Linked DNA regions of Homo sapiens: regions 2, 3, 4, 5, 6 and 7 are each linked to region 1. The links are contacts of gene promoters, found by promoter capture Hi-C in human tissues and cell types (Jung and others, 2019). All regions are on one chromosome and are shown on one strand. The core of a region is centred on a gene start or on the middle of the fragment in contact, and the rest is flanking DNA. Distances in the headings are between cores, read along the strand shown. Region 1 holds the start of ETV1 (ETS variant transcription factor 1). Region 2 overlaps DGKB (diacylglycerol kinase beta). Region 3 overlaps DGKB (diacylglycerol kinase beta). Region 4 overlaps LOC107986770 (a long non-coding RNA gene). Region 5 overlaps DGKB (diacylglycerol kinase beta). Region 6 overlaps LOC107986770 (a long non-coding RNA gene). Region 7 overlaps LOC107986770 (a long non-coding RNA gene).

Region 1 (2,930 bases), core at 309-2,808:
TAGTACCCATGAGCTTCACTGTTCAGCCTCGGGGCCCAGGCGCTTCCTGGAATCTCTCCTTGGCCGGGGTTAAAATGCAGTTCCCGCTCAAAATGCTTATAGGTGCGCGCGTTGTGAACTCCGATTTAGTAGTTTCCGGGAATGCGCGGGGTCTGTCTTTGCTGTCCATAGTTATTGGTTGTTTTCCCAGTAATAAGTGTTGATTGTTTGTTTGTTTGCTTCTTTTTTAAGTAGATCTTTCTCCTGCCCAGGTCCGGGGTTGAGTGCTGTGCGCTCTTACACTCCATTTTAATGTGTCTCCATAACGTTCTATTTAAGGAAGGAAACTTTCAAATAGAAATTGAGAACTGCAGCACGTTTCCTAACGGGCGGAACAGCTGCCGGAAACGTCTTTTGGTCACTAGTTCTGGTCACAAATGAATTTCAACAGCATTGAGTCCCTGGTCCTATCCCCGCGGCCTCCCGTCCGCTGTTGGACACTGGCTCCTTAAAGTGACGCTTTACTGTTCTGAGTCCCATAGGAGGATCAGGGCAAGTGGCTTCAGAGATGCAGCCCTCACTGCTTAACGTCCTAGTTATTGTCCTTGAAACCCGAGCCATCTCACCGCTCGCCCCCAACCCTGGGCTCTGGCTGTTTAAAAGCTGGAGAGGAAGTGAAAGCGTCAAGTACAGTAAGTGACACCCTCCGCCTCCGTGTATACATAACAAAAGCTCAGGAAACGTGCGGGTTCTAGGATATACGAGCAACCCCAAGCACTCCCTCCTCCTCCCCACAGCCACAGTGGACTGGAAGTACCTTTTCCCAGTGCACACGTAGGGACCATTTTGACTTATACTTTTTCACCTAGCTTGCTCTGTTGTCCTCCCATCACAACCTCTGCTAATCAGCAATTCTGCATCTCCTAGGTGCCTTCCTTATAGATTCTTTATGTTTCTGTCCCACGAACGATAGGATCTAATTTTAGTTGAGGATGACTGTTTAAAAAATGTTTCGATAAACCATAATGGTGATGGTGGGTTTTGAAAAACGGGAAAATAAATTGGGCCAAAAGCTGAGTGGGAATGAGGATAGAGAGCGAGGTGAGCTCCTAGTCAGGGCAAGAGTAGAGAGGTTGGAGATCCTGAGGGGAGGGCAGCTGAATAAGGCGGTACGGGCTTTGTGGATCGCGGCTCTAAGGGTATACCAGAACCGCACAACAGTACTTTAAGGAAACCAGCCCAATAGTGGACCTAACACCCCAATAATGGGAACTGGCGACTCGAAACACACGGTTTCAGTATCCCCAGGCGCCTTAACAATAAGCAGCGGGTTACAGAGGAAATCGAGTCTCTCCGTGGCGCTTCCAGGCTGAGGACCCAGCGCCTACCGGCCGAGCACCCCCTAGGGCAGAGGGGCGAGGGAGACCCGCGGGAAGGGGCAGCAAGCCGCCTGATTGACAGCCCGAAATCTGATCTTGTGAAAGAGACGCGGAGCCAATGGGAGGCAGCGATCCATCAGTTTGGATTGGAGGCCCCTGGAGGAGAAGTAGAGGAAAAACCACCGAATTGAGCTCTGTCAGAGGCGCTTTCGGCTTCCAAGGGGGAAGTGCTGGGCTATAATTAATGTTTTTATTAAATTTGGAGGGAAGTTTTTGCAGCCTTTCGCCTAGCGTGGCCTTCAGGTGGGTCTTTCCAACAACTTTTTATGTCTCTCCAGATAATTGCATGGTTGTGGGTCGCAAAAACTATCCTGATGAAAGAGGTGTCTCCGTCTCTTTAGTCCCGTTAGGTGCAAAGCAAGTCTCGTTGATCGCCATTGCTAGTTTTGCACACGTTTGCGAATCAGAGCTGCCCGGGGTACACCGACCGCGCAGGGAAACATCGAGAGTGTAAATAAATACATCGCCTCTTGTTCGGATTTTTGCTACTACCGAAAATATGTAAATTGTGAACTCTGTTGGCTCTCTTTGGATCCAGGTGAAGGAGGCGGTGTAGGGAGGGTTATTTTTGTGAATGGGACTGTCGGAGGGTAATTAGCTATGCAAATTCAAGAGCTTCATTCATGATTTTTTTTTAAGCCTAAAAGCCATCTTGTTCCCCTCTAGGTTGATAGAAGTCCAGATCCTGAGGAAATCTCCAGCTAAATGCTCAAAATATAAAATACTGAGCTGAGATTTGCGAAGAGCAGCAGCATGGATGGATTTTATGACCAGCAAGTGCCTTACATGGTCACCAATGTGAGTGATCAGTTTGAAAGTTGCTGTTTATAAACTTGACTCCGTCGGGGGTGGGGAGAGGGAGAAAATGAGAAGGGAGGGGGCACGGGGGTTGGGATTGCAGATACTTATCTGCTTTGTTGCCACTGTAGGGCGACTCTGCTTCTAGAAGCCCAGTCTTCAAAATGAGCTTACCTTTCAGTGATTTGGATAAGGCATAGTTTTGTTTTTAAGACCCCTTTTTCTGATTAAAGTGCCCAACATGAGTGGAAGAGGAGATGGAGGGCAGCAGCAGCTGCTGCACTCAAAGTTTTTGGCTGGGTTTGTCTGCCACATTGAAAAGAATGAAGTTGAGACAAATGCTGACACTTTTTGTTTATATGGGGTGTTTTTGTTTCTTTTTTTTTTCTCATTTTCTCTTTTTTTTTTTTTTCATTTCTCTACTCTTTTTGCTTTTTTTTTTTGTGGGGGTGGGGTGGGGAGGAGGGGCTGTCCAAGAGAGAATAAAACCCACTGTTTTAATCTAGCATTGAACCAGCCTAAAAACAACTTTAAGTGTAAATGCTTCAGGTTGTTTTGATGCTGAGATACCATGAATATATGATTGATAAATAGTAATGTGCTAAGATCGGCACTGGGAAGCAACTCTCCCTGCCTGCTTAACATAAGCTTTCACTGTCAAATAAGTGAGAAAATGAATATTAGAGTTGATACTATGGACTTCTATTTTTCTAT
Region 2 (2,930 bases), core at 246-2,745, 480 kb before region 1:
GTGCAGGGAAACTCCTCCTTACAGAACTATCCGATCTTGTGAGGCTTATTCATTATCATGAGAACAGCATGGGAAAGACCTGCCTCCATGATTCAGTTACTTCCCACTGGGTACCTCACACAACATGTGGAAATTCAAGATGAGATTTGGTGGGGAAACAGCCAAACCGTATCAGGTGGTCTTACAAAGATTTCTTAAAAATCTAGTCATAGCATGATTTCAGTGATTCAATTCAAATTCTTAATGTGTAACACCTAAAACCATTTTACTAGAATAAACTAAAAGAAGTTAGCTAGTAAGCACTTATGGCCAGCGATCACAATAATACTGTTTAAATCCACGCAGCTTATTTCAAAGTATCTGGTCTCTAATTTTTGGAATGAAACAAAGATAGGTTCTCAGCCCCCTGGTCAGAAGTATGTGATTTATTTCTGTACTACTTTCTGCTTTTTCTTTCTTGGGCTTTAGTAACTACACAGTTTGTGGAACATACTGTGTACTCAATAGGTATTTATTCTGTAAGTTATTTACTATTTCATGGTATATTTATCTTCTCTATATTTTTCTATATATCTTACTACCTTTATAGTTTATGCTTTTATAGTGCAAAAAATGCAATAAAGATTGAACTGTGATATGTAGAGTGAGTCTTCATTCTACATAACTATTATTTGAGGTATTAATACCTTTTAGTTTTCTCAGCCTTTACGTACATAACCTTCAAGAACCAGCAATGCAAAACAAACAAAAATTCTTTAACATAAATCCCTGAGCACTGTGTCCTACAAATAAATAATATGAGATTACTTATAGATTAGTTTGTGCTTCTTCTTATCAATTTATATGTCAGCAGTATACAATTTTCAAATTATTATTCTTTATGTGTTGATGGTATTGAACTGAAGACTAAATATAAAATATCACTCTCCTTATACATATATGTATGCTTATACATATATGTGTGTGTATATATGTATGTATACACATATATTCCATACATATATGTATGTATACACATATATTCCATACATATATGTATGTATACACATATATTCCATACATATATGTATGTATACACATATATTCCATACACATATATGTATGTATACATATATTCCATACATATATATGTATATATACATATATTCCATACATATATGTATATATACATATATTCCATATATATGGAAAATTATCATTTCTAAGAATAGAAAAATCAAACCTGTGTATTTTTTTTCTATTTTGCTATAGAGACAAAGAAAAGCCCACAGACTAGAGTAATAGAACACAAAATTGCCATTTGTTATCTAGAGATAAAAATTCCATTAAAGTTCTAGAATATAATGAGAAGTTAAAAATATAATATTTCAGTAGTGACAGAAAAATGCTATATCAAAGCCAAATATTTTTACTTACCATATAAAGTACCATTGAGAAATTATTTCTGTGAATTCAACAAAATGCTTTTGAAGTTCCAGAGCAATTCAAATTGTCTTACATCATGATGATATATTCTGTTGATGTATTCATATTTATAATTTTCTTGATCTTCTGTAAGAATCTTTAATGTACAAATGAAAAAAGCCAATTGAAAATTGGCATCCAATCAATTTCATGAGATATTCTCTTAAATGTGTATCTTACATATATTTTTGAGTCAGGTATGACATAGCAAATAGAATATAGGAGATATTTGTATTTATTTTCCTCTGAAGGCTTTTAACATGTATCTTTGTAGAATCACATTTGTAGGAATTCATGTTTTCTTTCACTTTAAACTTTTAGGAATTAAACTGTTATTTCAGGAGTACAATTGATTTTTAAATTACTGACATTCACAATCTATTAAAAACAGTGAAAGTAAAGAAAGGATGAAGTATATCACAATGTCATCATTCAGGTATTTGACCTCACTTTTGCCTCAGTCAAGACAAGTTCATTATTGTAGACTGAATTTTTTTCATTTAAAAATGTAAATTATTATCATGTTTTAAGGCACACTTCTACCTTGTGTATATGTCACTATCTTTTATTAGCCAACTAGGTAAACAGGACTACTGAAATTAAAAGTTAAATGTTTGTCATTTTTAGTGTTTTGAATAAAATCAGTTTTATTAGAAATAGTGGTGTTGTGCAGGGACCTTTTGAAGAGAATCATATCTTCATGAGAGTTTCATGTCCTAAAGCACTTTTATGTCTTTAGTTTCTGTGTACTAGAATGAATTGATGTGTTTTTAAAGAAGAAACATACTCATTTTTCATTCTAACTTAGAATACTTTGCTATATCATTTAAATGAAATTTTTGAAATTTGTGTGTGTAAGCATTATCATGAGGCCAGTTTTTCCATATGACTAAATTACGGTTTGCCTATAAACCATATAGTGTACAGATAAATAGGTAAATATATAGATGTATATATGTGTATACATATATGTATTTGTGATGCATCGATTTATATATTTGTATACATATATATTTGCTAAGAGTTTTCATTTTATCATATTTATATAAATCTCTTACAATTATATGTGCTCTTCTATGTGTGTATTCCTAATGTAAAGCTTTTAAAATAATTTACTATGCTCCTCGATTCATATATTTTTATTTGTATGTTGAGACTTGCTTAAATACTTTGTTGGATCTGAGCAGGTAGAAATGAGAATGGTTAAATGAGTCAGGACTGTGTGTGTTCTCATGCAGGGGGTTTCAATTCACCTGAAGCTTCCTGCATCATTTCTTGGCACCATTAATAAAACCAGAACACTTACTTCTGTATCCAGGCTGTTTAAAATCATGTTTGTAAGATGGCTCTTTGGAATAGAGTGAGTGAGGACTGGAGGATGAATAAAGAAGGGAATAACTTTTCTCCCTTCCTTTTTTGCCCCTCACTCTCTTTCTTCTTTCACACCACATTTTTTATTCTCCTGT
Region 3 (2,930 bases), core at 321-2,820, 440 kb before region 1:
TGGGGGGACTCAAACATTCAGTCTATGAAAATAAATAGTATTTTCTCAGTAACAAAAATATGTCTAATCCTTCTGTCAAAATAGAATCTTCTGTTTTCAATATGCCTTCTGTGTTTAGTAATCTCTGAGGGCCTTTGGCTACAGAGTTTAATTTCTATGAAAATTAAAAATCTACATTATTCTAGTCCTGTATTATTAAACCACCAACTTTTATATAGAAATATAAAATGGTCATTTGTTCAGATAAAAAATTTATATTTTTTATATTACAAAGAGTCCTTAGTAAAATAGGGGCTTGGGGAATGTTCTCTGCTCTTTTCAGCCTGTTTTCCTAGCATCTGAATGAGCATGGGTTTTTTTGTTCTCAGATCTTGCCATTAGCTGAATCAGTGAGTGGCAAAATTAAAGGGAGAGGGGTATACAATGTAATGCAAAAACATACACACTTACACAATCACATGTGCACCTATTTTTAATCCTAAGAAACTTCCCATTAATTAGAGGAAACCTCTGATACTCTGCACTTAACAGTCCCAATTTTTGTTGTACTCACTTCATTTAAGAGCAATAATGAAGAAAATGAACAAGTATAGGCTCTATACAATAATGTGGGAAAACAAAAAGAGAAAAAGAAAGGGAGGAAGGAGCAGGCTGAGAAAAGCAACAAGAAAAATATTGGTATGAGCAGAAGGAAATCACACTGTTTTATTTTATGAACCTCTCACTTCCTCATACCCCCAAACAACCTCGATGCAAAACAACAAATCAGTATTTCAATACCTCAGAATGTATAGTGACACAAAGATAAAACCCAAACCAGGAGAGACTAAGGAAGATGTTAAAGGTAAATATAAAGCAGTTACAGAAGTGAAAGTCAAAATAGAAGCAGTAAAAAGTCACTGATGAGAGTAATAAGGGGCTCAGAGAACAGAACTGATAAAGTAAGCAAAATGAGTCAAAATGAAAGAATATTGGAAGATGATTGTAAAGAAAATTATATATATATATCACAGAAAAAGTTATGAAACAAAGTATAGAACACTGTCTAGCATACAATAGGCATTAAATAATTGCCTATTATTTCTGATTGCCAGAATCAGAATATTTTTTATTGAATATTCAATAAAATTTTCAATATTGAAAATATTGAAAAATAAATGAACCATCAATAGAAAATTGATGTGCTGGTAGAAACAAACTGTATAAACAGGAAAATTTAAAACATAGAGAAAGATATAATTTAAGAAAACTTTTGAGAAATTATTGTAGACTTGAATCTACAGTTTTATAGGGCCAAATGTATTCTAAAACATTGTGGTATGGTTGTGTCCCCACCCAAATCTCACCTTGAATTCCCACATGTTGTGGGAGAGACCTGGTGGGAGGTAACTGAATCATGGGGGCAGTTCTTTCCTGTGCTGTTCTCATGATAGTGAATAAGTCTCACAAGATCTGATGGTTTTAAAAACGGGAATTTCCCCGCACAAGCTCTCTTCTCTTGTCTGCCACCATGTGAGATGTGCCTTTCACCTTCTGCCATGATTGTGAGTCCTCCCCAGCCATGTGGAACTGTAAAGAAAACTCTTTCTTTTGTAAATCACCCTGTCTCAGATATGTCTCTATCAGCAGCGTGAAAATGGACTAATACAGTAAATTAGTACCAGTAGAGTGGGTCACTGCTGAAAAGATACCCAAAAATGTGGAAGCAACTTTGGAACTGGGTAACTGGGCAGAGGTTGGAACGGTTTGGAGGGCTCAGAAGAAGACAGGAAAATGTGAGACAATTTGGAACTCCCTAGAGACTTGTTGAATGGCTTTGACCAAACTGCTGATAGTGATATGGGCAATGAAATTGAGGCTGAGGCTGATGGAGATGAAGAACTTGTTGGGAAGTGAAGCATAGGTGACTCTTGTTGCATTTTAGCAAAATGACTGGTGGCATTTTGCCCCTGTTCAGGACGTACAGGTTTGTTACATACGTAAACATGTGCCATGGTGGTTTGCTGCTCCTATCAACCTATTACCTAGGTATTAAGCCCCATATGCATTAGCTATTTATCCTGATGCTCTCCCACCCCCCACTCCCTGACAGGCCCCAGTGTGTGTTCCCCCTTGTATTTTTTGAGAGTGTTTCACTCTGTCACCCAGGCTGGAGTGCAGTGACACTATCTTGGCTCACTGTAACCTCCGTCTCCTGGGTTCAGGTGATTTTCATGCCTCAGCCTCTTAAGTAGCTGGGATTACAGGCACACTCCACCGTGCCTGGCTAATGTTTGTATTTTTTTTTTAGTAGAGATGGGGTTTCCTCATGTTGGCCAGGCTGGTCTCAAACCCCTGACCTCAAGTGATCCACCTGCCTTGGCCTCCCAAAGTGCTTGGATTACAGGCATGAGCTGCCACGCTTGGCCCATAGTGGAATTTCTTAATAATACAGAGTCAGTGGAACTAAGTACACAAATTCAACAAATTTTAAATTGAAGGCCCCACAATAGCTTCCATCAGTATGTCTAGCCTGTTAAATAGTTCGCCTTTTCTGAACTCATAATTTTAGCATGGTTGCCTAGGATACTTCATTCTCAACAAATCACTCAGATCCCAGTAGGCAAATAGGTAGCAGTGGGACAGCATTAAAGCTGTTTTAGTCTGGTCACTTTATAAAGACTTGTTATTTCCAGCTGTACCCCCTAACTATTGTGGTACATGACTTTATTGTGCTATGAAGCCACTCCATCCATTCATGCATCCATTCAGCAAACATTTGCTGATCCCCCTTGGTAGGCTAAGCACACATGAATGCTACTTCCTCACAAATAAAGCTTAAGGGTTTGATTCTTGTGTCTCACATGTACGCTGCATGGCTTTAAATCACTTAGCTTAATTTACAGATTTCTAAGTCCAATCTTATCCTTTATACATAAATAGCAAATTTT
Region 4 (2,930 bases), core at 126-2,625, 420 kb after region 1:
ATTAAACATTCGTCTAAACCTGTAGAATTTACAACGCTGAGCTTGAACCCTAATGTAAATTATGAACTTTTGATGATAATCGTGTGTCAGTGTAGGTTCATCAGTTGTAACAAAGGTACCACTCAGGTGGGGGATGTTGATAATGAGGGAGGCTATGCATTTGTATGGGGCAGAGGGAGTATGGGAATTCTCAGTACTTCTGCTCAATTTTGCTATGAACCTAAAACTGCTCTAAAAAATAAAGCTTATTTAAAAAATTAGCAAACACACAGTAAGGATATGGTAGTTATACCCTTAAAGATTTCATATGCTGAAATTAACACATAATAGAAAAAATAATGTCTAAGTAGAAGCTGAGCTTAGTGGCGCATGCCTGAAGTCCCCACTGCTCAGGAGGCTGAGGCAGGAGGCTCCCTTGAGCCCAGTATTCTGAGACCAACCTGGGCAACAAAGCAAGACCCCATCTCTAAAATAAATAAATAAATAAATAAATAAATAAATAAATATTTTAAAATATAAGATGGAGTCACAAAAATGAACAAAAAATGGCAATATATAAAATGACCAGGTAGATTTGAAGTGGAATGGCTTCAAACTTTTAGAATAGAAAATGCAATTTTTATAGCAGTTATTTAATAACTGAAAAAAGTCTTAAAATAAGATCAGCTGCAGATCAGACAGCTGAAAAGAAAATCAAGACTTACAATGTGTTGGGACATAACCAAAGTGAAATTAAGAACGAGAAGGACTAACATATTCATCGTCATCATTCCGGAGGAGATAGTAGAGTCAATGGAGGGGGAAAGACAGTAGACTATTTGAAGAAATAACCATTAATACTTTCCAGATGTTAACAAAAGATATCACAGATACAGTATGCAAAATATTCAAGATGATTAAGACAAACGAATTCATTCATGGATACCTTGTAGTAAAACTGCAGAAATCTTTAAGACAAAAAAAGAGAAAAATCTTAGAAGTGTCAAGAAAGAATAAAGAGATGACCAGAAAGAAGTTACAAGTAAATTTACAGAATACTTCTCAATAGCAGTAATGGAAACCATTTGGCAGTGGAACTCTCTCTCCACAGACCTTAGAGAAAAGTATCAATATAAAATTATATATAAAATAAAACCATGTTTAAGAAAAATTCAAAAACACAAACATAAACTAAATAATTATCAACTTATTCTTAGTTATAGAAATTTCTCAATGATGTATTTCAAGAAAAAATGGGTGCAGAAAGTATCAGATGGAAGAGGGAATACTAAGCAAATAAATGTTAAACAAGCTGTGAAGTTTAAATATTGGTTGTAACATCATAACTAGATGTTTATCTTGTTCAGTTAAAAATGAGATCTAAAAATCTTGAAATAGTACAGTCTAAAGCAGAAAATTCCGTTAGATTACATTAAAGTCCTTAGAGGAGGGTAAAGGTTTATTTGATTAAAACAACCACCTTACAATTTCTAGAGAAATTCGTAAGAACACAGAAATAGATTGCCGAACTTTCTACCTAATACAGGGGGGAAAATCTAGTAAGGAAAATAAATGTGAATAACTAAAACCAAAATTTAAGTGGGGAAATAATAGAAAGTAATGACAATGATTTTTTTTAAAATAAAATATTGACTTTAAAGATTGTCAGTTTGGTCTCAAATATTTGATCATATTGTGTTTATAATACATAAATTTACAAAATAGGCAGGCTGAAAGAAGTGTTGAAAAGTAAAGGCCAGGCTAATATTAATACAATTACTGGTGTAGCAATTAGACCAAAATATTTTATAGCTAAAACAGCATGACAAAAGGGTATTAGTATATATTAATGGAAGCTTGAATTCATTGAGAAGATATAACAATTCTAAACTGGTATGTGCCCAATAACATAGGTTCAAATCATATAAAAAAGTGACAAATGTACAAAAAGAATTTGAAAAATTCACTATCAGAGCATATAATTTAATGCAACTCTCTTCCTACTCAATATATTAAACTCAAAAGAAGAAAGATTTTAATATTGGAAATATTAATCTTAATCCAAAAGTCCCATATAAACCCTGCACTTAAATGGAGAATATATTTCTTAAAACACAGAGTACTTTACCAGCATTGACTGCAGAATAGTCCATAGAGCAAGTCTCAGCAAATTTCAAAGCTGACATTCCTATATTACAGCATAATTTAATTATAAATCAGTAAAATAAAATACTCTAAATATTTGGAAATTTAAACATACAATTCTTAGTAAGTCAATAACAAAGAAGAAATCACAATGGAAATTATTCACAATTATTTAGACCATCAAAATAATGAGACACTATAAATGACTTTCAGCCTTGCCCTCTCTCTCTCTCTATATATATCTAGATATATACACACATGTATACACACTCTGTGTCTCTCTGTATATACATACAAACACACATTCACATGCACACATACGTATATAAAACTGACATTTCAGATCATAAGTGAAAATATGATAAATGCATTAAATAAGAATTCAGTAAAAGGAGCTTCGATGCTTGTTATTGTTTTGTTTGTTTGTTTGTTTGTTTTTTTGAGACAGAGTCCACCTCTGTTGCCCAGGCTGGAGTGCAGTGGCACTCTCAGCTCACTGCAAACTGCCTCCTGAGCTCAGGCGATCCTCCCTCCTCAGCCTCCCAAGTAGCTGGGACCACAGGCACACGCCACCACTCCCAGCTAATGTTTGGTACTTTTGGTACAGACAGGGTTTCACCATGTTGCCCAGGTTGAACTCGAGCTCATGAACTCAAGCAATCTGCCTGTCTCAGCCTCCCAAAGTGTTGGGATTACAGGCGTGAACCACCACGCCTGGCAGGTGCTTGTTATTCTTGTTTGTCCTTCTTGAAAAAATAAACCAATAAAAAGGAAATAGGATCCTTGTATCGTACCATAGAAAAATG
Region 5 (2,930 bases), core at 183-2,682, 420 kb before region 1:
AATTGATCATTAAACCGTGAAAGAGGGATGTGCCTACTTTGTCAGGAGCCACCATGTTTTTTCTTCATAACTGTGTTTGATAAAATATGTTTTGTCTTCTTACAGTGTGTGTTCCACAGTTAGCTTCTAATGACTAGTAATTATCAGTATGCCCCCACAACCTGCTATTTATGGTTTGTGAGGATTGGGGGAGGGTAGTTTCTGTTTTTCACTGCCTTATGCCCTATCCAGACTGTTATTCTTCTAAGGTCTTCTGTGTAGGGGCATGGAGAGGATCATGGTTTTTTTTGAACATTAGTCCCTAGTTCTGTCTATTCTATCTCTCTTGTTGCTGATCTCTGTTGACTTCCATTCACTTGCCAAGAGTCTCAAAGTCCACTGAAGCACATGATTTACAGCATTTGTCTTCATTCTTATTGCATCTTCATTTGAAATATTTACTCTGTCTTAACCAAAGATTTTGCCGTATGATTTTATAATACAACTCATTAGAAAAGAAAAACCTCTTATTAATTTCAGTTTTCAGTTTATTTTAATAAAACATGAATTGTTTTGGCCAACGAAATTTTAGCAGCTATGAAGTGAGTTGAGGTTTTAATTTGCTTGTGTGGTTAGGCTTTTGCCTCCTGTACTGTCACTCTCAATAAGAAGAGCATACCCAGGTAGCTTCTTCTCCATCAGCCTGCCCTCTAAAATAAACACACATAGAAAAGACTGAAATCCTGGAGCAAAGTTCTCCAGTCTCACACCGTGGAGCAACATGGTCCAGCCTAGATCAACTGAAAATAGTCAAACCACAGTCTGATAAGCACGAGACACAATGTTATTGGAAGCCGATAGGATTTTTGAGGTTGTTTGTTACTCAGCAACGTTGAACAATAGACATAATAGCACTAACTACATTTGATGAATAAATTAAGGACAAATTTCAAATCCATGTGGGCAACTTTCTAACTCCCTAACATGGCAGTTCCTGGAACCGTTGAACTAGAACTATCACTTCCATTCTCTTCAGCTGCTCCCTGTCACATTCATGCACTAGAATGCCTCATTGCCCTCACTTTCTGACTTCTACTTTACATCCTTTAGCTCTCACACTTCTTCACTCCTTCTTAACTACTGTTTGACCTTCTATAGACCTCATGTACTTGATCCTGAATTTTCTTTCATAACTATAAGCATCTTCTTGGACTAAATTATCTGCTCAATACAGAACCCATAATCACTTGATTATATTCTCAACCAATCTGTTCTTCTTTCATTTCTATGTCTTCTCTGAAAACCCCAAACATAGATCAAGCCCTCAATTTATTCTCTTCACTCCTACATCCAGACTAGCAATAGCACTTGAGAAAATTGTATATAACTTGAGTAATTCCATAAGATGAGATGCAATATGGTCATATCTCATATTGTACAAATAAATTGTTCAACATGCTAGTTAGCTTAAAAGCGGAGAGTTTAGCATCTTCTAAAGGTTTTTCTCATTCTCTGCATTTTACAAGATCCCTAGGGATAGATAGTCCTAAAGTGGGTCAGTCTACTTGAACCTAAGAGCATGTTTTTTTAAATAGAAACAAGGATCACCAATGATTGTTTTATGGTTTTCCATATAACAGCCACTTTTCAGGAAGTTAACCATTTAGAGCCTGTAAGTGCTGTCGTGATCAGTAGTACCTGGACATGTAGAGCCAACACTTTTTTCTAATATCTTCATTTCTTTATATCAGGGTCAGGCAGGATTTTTCTTTATATACCTAAAATATGACATTTTAAAATTCATCCTCTTTCCCTGCATAGTGGGATTATTTTCCCAAAGTATTAAAGTAGTTGACCCTTAATGAATTTAAGGGTCTACTGTTCTGAGCCAACTTGCTCTCAAGTCAATTTCTTACCCTTTGCTCTTTCTACTGGGTGTGTTGGAGATTGAATTCTTAGACTGCATTTGCTAGGCTATTGTGTCATCTGGCATCTGATTTGGTTCAGTCACTGGAAGTCATTGGTGATATAACGAATGGAGGGATTAAGGGAAATTTTCAAGGTATCTCTCCTTCTCCCTCTGGGGCAGCATCTCTAATAATGGCTGTATCTCTTCTTTGGATCCAACTTCTCTTGAATATACCAACTAAGATTCTATGTTATGCTGGGTCACTCCACCCCTGGGCTCTGGTAATACAACCTCCTCCTTTTTCTCCTTCAAGCTAAAGATAGTAGCAACTCCCTGCTGTTGCGAATCTTGTGTTGCTTCATTAGCCCAAGATTGGATTCTCATCTATTCCTAAAAGACACCAAACTCTTTCCTGCCTCGGTTCCTTTGTCCTTCCTGATGTCTCTCGCTTAGAATGGGCTTTTCTTATATTTTTGCATGGAGAGCTCCTTCTTCTTTAGGTCCCATTCTAGACATCATCTCTTAAAAGCTGTGCCTGGTTTCCATTACTCTCTCACATACAAAGTCCTTTTGTTTCATGAGGCACAACCTATATAGCTTGAATGATTATTGTTTACTTGCATGCTGACTTTTTTCTCCAACTTGGTTATAGCTCAAGGGTGGCTAGAACCTTGTCTGTCTTGATTGTTTCTGCATCCTCAACACCTAGAATGAAACATGTTAGATTCATTATACAGATTTCTTAAATGAGTAAAAGAAAAAATGAATGCATAAAATCTGATTATATCCTTTAAGAAGCCTATCTCATTTAATTCTTACTACAAGCTGATTTCATAATGGCTATTATTATCCAAATTTAACAGTTGAGGGAACTGACATTTATAGAGATTAAGTAGCTTGTCATGAATTATTTCAGAAGTCATAAGATTAAGTAACTTATTAAAAAGCTAATAACATGGTAGATTCTGTATTTAAAAAGCAGGTTCTTGTGATTCCCCAGCTGATACTCTTTACTGTAATTTATTTTTTTAAAAAATCATGA
Region 6 (2,930 bases), core at 204-2,703, 380 kb after region 1:
CACTCCCAACAGGCTGTTGTGTGTGTTGTTCCCCTCTCTGTGTCCATGTGTTCTCAATGTCACCATGAATTTGGTGGCCTTTAGCTGTTATTAAGAATTTGACATGTGCTCCAATCACATTAGCTGTAATAATTATCACTAAACCCAAATATTATTGGGCTGCAATAATGAGTTTTCTTGTATAATACTCAAATATTATATAAATTTGAGTGGACGTTATTCAATCCAAAACATGAAACTCAATAACACCACAGTAGATGAGAAATGACCTCACTAAAGCAGTGGTGTCAAAGATCATAGAACATCTTTACATACAACACATTATTTTTTCCTTTAGCTTAAAAAAGGGGATGATATAGATTTTTTCCATATTCAAGAAATGTGAAAACTTAATACGTTAACATCTGGTTATGGATAAATATGTCCACATTAAGAAGATGATTTTTTGAGATCTAATTACAGTTTTTATAATTCTATAGTTTTTAAGATTACAGTTTCTAAAATGCGTTTTTCAAATGTATAGCATAATTACAAATAGGAATAAGAAAGCTAATCTTAATCTACCTAAATCTTCTCTATTTAATGACTTTGCTTATGTAAATGTTTCTAATTATACTGAAATATAGTGTATCATTTCATAACTTTGCACAAATATATTTAATATATATATCTTTCATAACTGAATTTTATTATTTAATAACTAAGGAATAGATTGTTTTTAGCTGAAATGTATCTCAACTTAAGAGACTGCGTTTTCAATTACCCTAAATAAGTGTTTTAATATATGTATATACACATATATAAAAAATATATAATATATCATGATGTAACACATAAATAACGTTATACTGCGGGGCGAGGTGGCTTACGCCTGTAATCCCAGCACTTTTGGGAGGCTGAGGTGGGTGGATCACAAGGTCAGAAGATCGTGACCATTCTGGCTAACACAGTGAAATCCCATCTCTACTAAAAATACAAAAAATTAGCCAGGCGAGGTGGCAGGCGCCTGTAGTCCCAGCTACTCAGGAGGCTGAGGCAGGAGAATGGCATGAACCCGGGAGGCAGAGCTTGCAGTGAGCCGAGATCGCGCCACTGCACTCCAGCCTCGGTGACAGAGCGAGGCTCTATCTCAAAAAAAAAAAAAAAAAGTTATATTCATATAATCTTACATTAACATATCAGTTGTATAATACATTAATTTATAATATATATTTAAAGGGTATTTAATATGTATATATAGTATGATCAAATAAAAGTGCAATTTAGGCCAGGTGTGGTGCCTCACACCTGTAATCCCAGTACTTTGGGAGGCTGAGGTGGGCGAATCACCTGAGGTCGGGAATTCGAGACCAGCATGACCAACATGGAGAAACCCCATCTTTACTAAAAATACAAAATTAGCTGGGCATGGTGGCACATGCCTGTAATCCCAGCTACTAGAGAGGCTGAGGCAAGAGAATCGCTTGAACCCAGGAGGTGGAGTTTGAGGTGAGCGGAGATTGTACCACTGCACTCCAGCCTGGGCAACAAGAGTGAAACTCCATCTCAAAAAAAAAAAAAAGTGCAATTTAATGCTGCTTCAGTGTCAGTAAATTAATTTTGACATGGCAACATATTTAACTGAAGATATTAGTGAAAGGGAATAACTAACAAGACCAATACTGTCAATAATAATATCATCAACTGAATTTTGATTGAATAAATCTTCTGAAATTTAAATGAACTTAGTAATACATCATAAATATATGTGTTTCAGTAAACTTGACAATAAGAAAGGTAAATTACCTACTGTTAACCTTTAAGAGAAGAAGGAGACTGAATTAATAAAGGATTATATGTATTAAAAAATGTAGACTTGGCTGGGCACAGTGGCTCATACCTGTAATCCCAGCACTTTGGGAGGCTGAGGCGGGCAGATCACAAGGTCAGGAGTTTGAGACCAGCCTGGCCAACATGGTGAAACCCTGTCTCTACTAAAAATATAAAAATTACCCGGTTGTTGTGGTGGGCACCTGCAATCCCAGCTACTCATGAGGCTGAGGCAGGAGTATTGCTTGAACCCGGGAGACAGAGGTTGCAGTGAGCTGAGATCATGCCACTGCACCCCAGCCTGGGTGACACAGCAAGACTCTGTCTCAGAAAAAAAAAAAATGTAGACTTCTACAGAACAGAAATAAACATGTAAGTTGAATAAGAATCTACATTTATAATAAAATCTTTCTAGGTGAGTCATGTGATTACCATGTTTTATTAAATGAGCAAAAGTGGAAATGAGATAAATGAATATATGCAAAATGCAGATGACTGGTAGTCCAATAAGAGAGCATTTCCTAATTCACAGTGAGTACAAATGGACAAGGTTTCAGTGGCATTGTCACATGCAATGTCAGATACTGTATTACCTGAACAAAATGATGTCTTGCCTAGGAAAATTATGATGCAGTAATACTGTTTTATGCTTACTTAACATTATAGACTAATTATACTTTTAACAGTAGGAGATTTTAAGCATAAAAAATCACTAAGAATATAGGAAGCAAACATATTTTCTTTTCACGTAGTTAGCATTTTATGACAGGAAACAATGATAGCATATTGTAAACATCTTTTGCCTACCTTTGTATTTTAATAGTTCAATATAACCACATTTCTCCAAAGACTCATTCTATTATTGAAAGATAATGGTGGGAACCAACTTAAGAACATGTAAAATGCAAGATTTTTTAATCAATGAGAAGCTATTAATTTAACCAACCCTTCCTGTAATAATATTGAGACAGACTGTCTGCCTGTTTTTACATTATAGCTAGCTTTGCAATCTGTGTAGAATTTAATGAGGTGTGTAATTTTTGTGAACTTATTGATTCTGAGGGATTCAAAAATTTTAATGCTACTGAACTTTGGTATTTTCACCTTTCATTTATCTTAGA
Region 7 (2,930 bases), core at 139-2,638, 350 kb after region 1:
ACATGTGAATGAAATCACTAAATCATAATGAAGCAAATTTTGATCAACAAAGTCTTTTACATTATTATATTGGTCTCTCTGTTTTTAATATGAAGGATTTCAATTATGTATAAATAGATGCTCACCCATTTTCTCGGAACTTACTGGCAAAGGTGAGAGTTAGTACAAAATCCGTGAAAAGTCTTTCATGGTAATTACTCCCTTTTTCACATCTCACAGTAGGAGGAAAAGTCCACTCCCAAAGGGCACAACACCTTCCCTCCACTGTCTCACTCACTGGGGAGCGTTTGTGGGATCACAAAGACCTTTGCTCCAGGGTAAAGCAGCTGTTCTGGGTGCTTGCCAACTGAAGTGATGGTCTAGCAAAATCTGTCAACAAGGGAAACATGCCACATCCTCATACTCATGTGGCTGCCTTCTCTTTCCCTATTTGGCATACCCCTTGGGACACTGCCTTATACAAAAGACCAAGACAGGTGACATACGTGTCAACATATGGCACTGCCCTCCTGGGGTAATGTACATGAAAGCATATGGTGCTGCTCTCTTACTCGTCAGCAAACACAGGAAGGACTCTGTCATAGTTACCCTGTTTATTTTCCATAAGGTTCTGAATTGTCCCCGAAAGGGGATAATTTGCATTATTTCTAGATATAAGGAAATATCACAGCTACATTAAAGAGCAGATGGTTGTCTGATTCTTGAGAAATACATATGTATATAATATTTTGTATCTATAGTTTATAAATCTTTCTGCATATTTAGAACTATATGTTCTAAATAAATGTATTTCTAAAGAAGTAAATGGCTATAATCATATATGTGTATATATACATATACATGTATGTCATATAAATAAAATCACACATACACATTCTTAGTAAAAAGATTATCATCTTTTTCTTATAAGTGCTTCGTTTTTAAGTGTTTCATTCTGACATATATTATAAAAGAATTTTCAGTTCGTTGGTCTTTTTTATGTTTTTACATCCAAGTATTTTCATTTGCTCTGGCTAACTCATTCTCACTCTATTGATTTTAGTTTAAAACTCTTCTTTCAGGAAGTCCAGTATCCTAAGTTAAGAATAAATTTCTCTTTTGGGGCCTTCTAAAACTTGGCTCTTCCTTGCCATTGTACTCACCGTCGCTTAAACACTTGACATTACTAACCACAACACATAAACATGGGGAAGAGATGGTCTCCCTTTTTTACCAGGGTGTTTCTCCCATGATGAGCATGGGTTCTAGCAAGAGGTAGGTGGTTAATAAATATTGAATGAATAAATTTAAAAATGCATCCACATAGGTAGGAAATTATGAAGACAGGAAAAGGCAAGGGTAATACGAAGAAGAAATTTAGCAGTAGAAAAGTCAGTATCTACTAAGTGACTTGATGTGGCAATTAAAGAACAAAGCAGAATCAAGAAGGAATCAGATATTTTTGGTAAGGGTGGAGAAAGGAGAGAGGCTAACAGTTTCCTTGGCCTGCTGTCTTCAATGACCCAATCTGATTACCTCCTTTGTTCCCAGTATTTGGGATGAATTATATCATGTTATTATAAGAAAAACAAACATGTTTTGTTACCACCTCCTTTTTTCCCACCTATCTGATGATCTGCGGTCCCTTGTTGACCTGCTCCAATGCCAATTCATTATCTGCTGTTGACAAACCAAATGTAACATTAGCACCCCGAAGACCACAACAGTTGAGACTCTCCACTGAGACATAAAGATTTTCCTATCTCTGGAAGATAGTGTTCTTTCAACTTCACGGAGCTGCCCTAGAAAGTTGCTCAGAATAACATCATTCTAGTCTCCAAAGCCTCCTCTTTCTTTGCCCTTGCTTAGACTCTGCTTTTGGCAAACTGTTCATTATTTGTTGAGGGAAGTTATTTCAAATCCCAACATAAGTATTTACTAGAAATACGCACTCTGTACCACTTTAATTACGTCGAACGGTATTTAAAATACTTCATTTAAACGTTATGATTTTGTGAAAATGCCAAACGCAATGCCTAGCACATAACTGGCACTTTATACACATTAATGTCCTGCCTACATTGTTTGAGAATTATTATCTATGTACCCTAATCATGCCTTCAAAGTTCTTTATAGAATAGAGATGGGCAAGCTCTTTTTGTTAATTTCCAGATAGAAAATATTTTCAGCTTTGAGGACCTTGCACTTTCTTTCATTGCAAAACTAAAGATGGATAATATGTAACAAAATTGATGTAGTTGTGTTCCAATAAAACTTTATCTACAAAAACAGTCAATAGTCTGTATTGGCCCATGGACTATAATTTGTTGATCACTGTAATAAATGCTTTGATGTCCCAGGTAAAAGCATGTGACATTTGACACATTGTTAGGCCCCTAAGAGACTTTAACTAGATAGCTAAGCAGTTGTTTGTTTATGTGTGGGACTGGATGGGGAGTATGAAGTAGGATTGATGAGTGCATTTTCTCATGTTTTCCAGGCAGCATTATAATTCGTTGATAGTTTTTTTTGTTTTTATTTGTTTCTTGTGGATAGCTGAGCTGTATTATACAGTTTAATAGCAGTAGTTGATGGGGTGTGAGTTTTTTTTGTTTTTATTTGTTTCTTGTGGATAGCTGAGCTGTATTATACAGTTTAATAGCAGTAGTTGATGGGGTGTGAGCTGTCAATTATATTTTAAAAACCCACAACATTGTCATCAAGGAATAAGTGCCTTATTGAAAGCTTGCTATCCTTGACTTCTTTAAATCAATTTTATTAAAGATGAGTGATATTTTATATTTACATACAATAAAATGAACCCATTTTAACTGTACTGTTTGATAAGTTTCGACATATTTACACAAGTGATCATTGCCAAATCACAATACATACCACATTTCCATTACTCCAAAATGTCCCCTTTATGCTCCTTCCAAACCCTAGTTTAA

Evidence for each region. Contacts are between HindIII fragments. The study calls those that stand out against the background at their distance.
Region 2: a fragment that was not itself captured here is called in contact with the fragment with the promoter of ETV1 in region 1 in 3 of the 25 tissues and cell types used here (dorsolateral prefrontal cortex, hippocampus and mesenchymal stem cells).
Region 3: a fragment that was not itself captured here is called in contact with the fragment with the promoter of ETV1 in region 1 in 1 of the 25 tissues and cell types used here (H1 embryonic stem cells).
Region 4: a fragment that was not itself captured here is called in contact with the fragment with the promoter of ETV1 in region 1 in 1 of the 25 tissues and cell types used here (stomach).
Region 5: a fragment that was not itself captured here is called in contact with the fragment with the promoter of ETV1 in region 1 in 1 of the 25 tissues and cell types used here (mesenchymal stem cells).
Region 6: a contact is called between a fragment that was not itself captured here and the fragment with the promoter of ETV1 in region 1, in 1 of the 25 tissues and cell types used here (lymphoblastoid cells).
Region 7: a fragment that was not itself captured here is called in contact with the fragment with the promoter of ETV1 in region 1 in 1 of the 25 tissues and cell types used here (lymphoblastoid cells).

The regions. Positions count from the first base shown.
Region 1 is chr7:13,988,294-13,991,223 of GRCh38, reverse strand. It overlaps ETV1 (ETS variant transcription factor 1), which reads left to right and starts at 1,558. Exons shown (of 14, transcript NM_004956.5): 1 at 1,558-1,661; 2 at 1,760-1,956; 3 at 2,085-2,216. The coding sequence starts at 2,172. RefSeq lists an enhancer at 1-38. The HindIII fragment of the contact is 5,948 bases long and covers 1-2,930 here.
Region 2 is chr7:14,469,418-14,472,347 of GRCh38, reverse strand. The region is part of intron 21 of DGKB (diacylglycerol kinase beta); the gene reads left to right. Among named protein-coding and RNA genes, the nearest start is that of DGKB, 430 kb to the left of the region's middle. The HindIII fragment of the contact is 7,074 bases long and covers 1-2,930 here.
Region 3 is chr7:14,426,251-14,429,180 of GRCh38, reverse strand. The region is part of intron 21 of DGKB (diacylglycerol kinase beta); the gene reads left to right. Among named protein-coding and RNA genes, the nearest start is that of ETV1, 440 kb to the right of the region's middle. The HindIII fragment of the contact is 6,067 bases long and covers 1-2,930 here.
Region 4 is chr7:13,565,884-13,568,813 of GRCh38, reverse strand. All of the region lies in intron 2 of LOC107986770 (a long non-coding RNA gene), which reads right to left. Among named protein-coding and RNA genes, the nearest start is that of ETV1, 420 kb to the left of the region's middle. The HindIII fragment of the contact is 3,843 bases long and covers 1-2,930 here.
Region 5 is chr7:14,405,244-14,408,173 of GRCh38, reverse strand. All of the region lies in intron 21 of DGKB (diacylglycerol kinase beta), which reads left to right. Among named protein-coding and RNA genes, the nearest start is that of ETV1, 420 kb to the right of the region's middle. The HindIII fragment of the contact is 5,499 bases long and covers 1-2,930 here.
Region 6 is chr7:13,609,984-13,612,913 of GRCh38, reverse strand. The region is part of intron 2 of LOC107986770 (a long non-coding RNA gene); the gene reads right to left. Among named protein-coding and RNA genes, the nearest start is that of ETV1, 380 kb to the left of the region's middle. The HindIII fragment of the contact is 7,071 bases long and covers 1-2,930 here.
Region 7 is chr7:13,637,030-13,639,959 of GRCh38, reverse strand. The region is part of intron 2 of LOC107986770 (a long non-coding RNA gene); the gene reads right to left. Among named protein-coding and RNA genes, the nearest start is that of ETV1, 350 kb to the left of the region's middle. The HindIII fragment of the contact is 3,683 bases long and covers 1-2,930 here.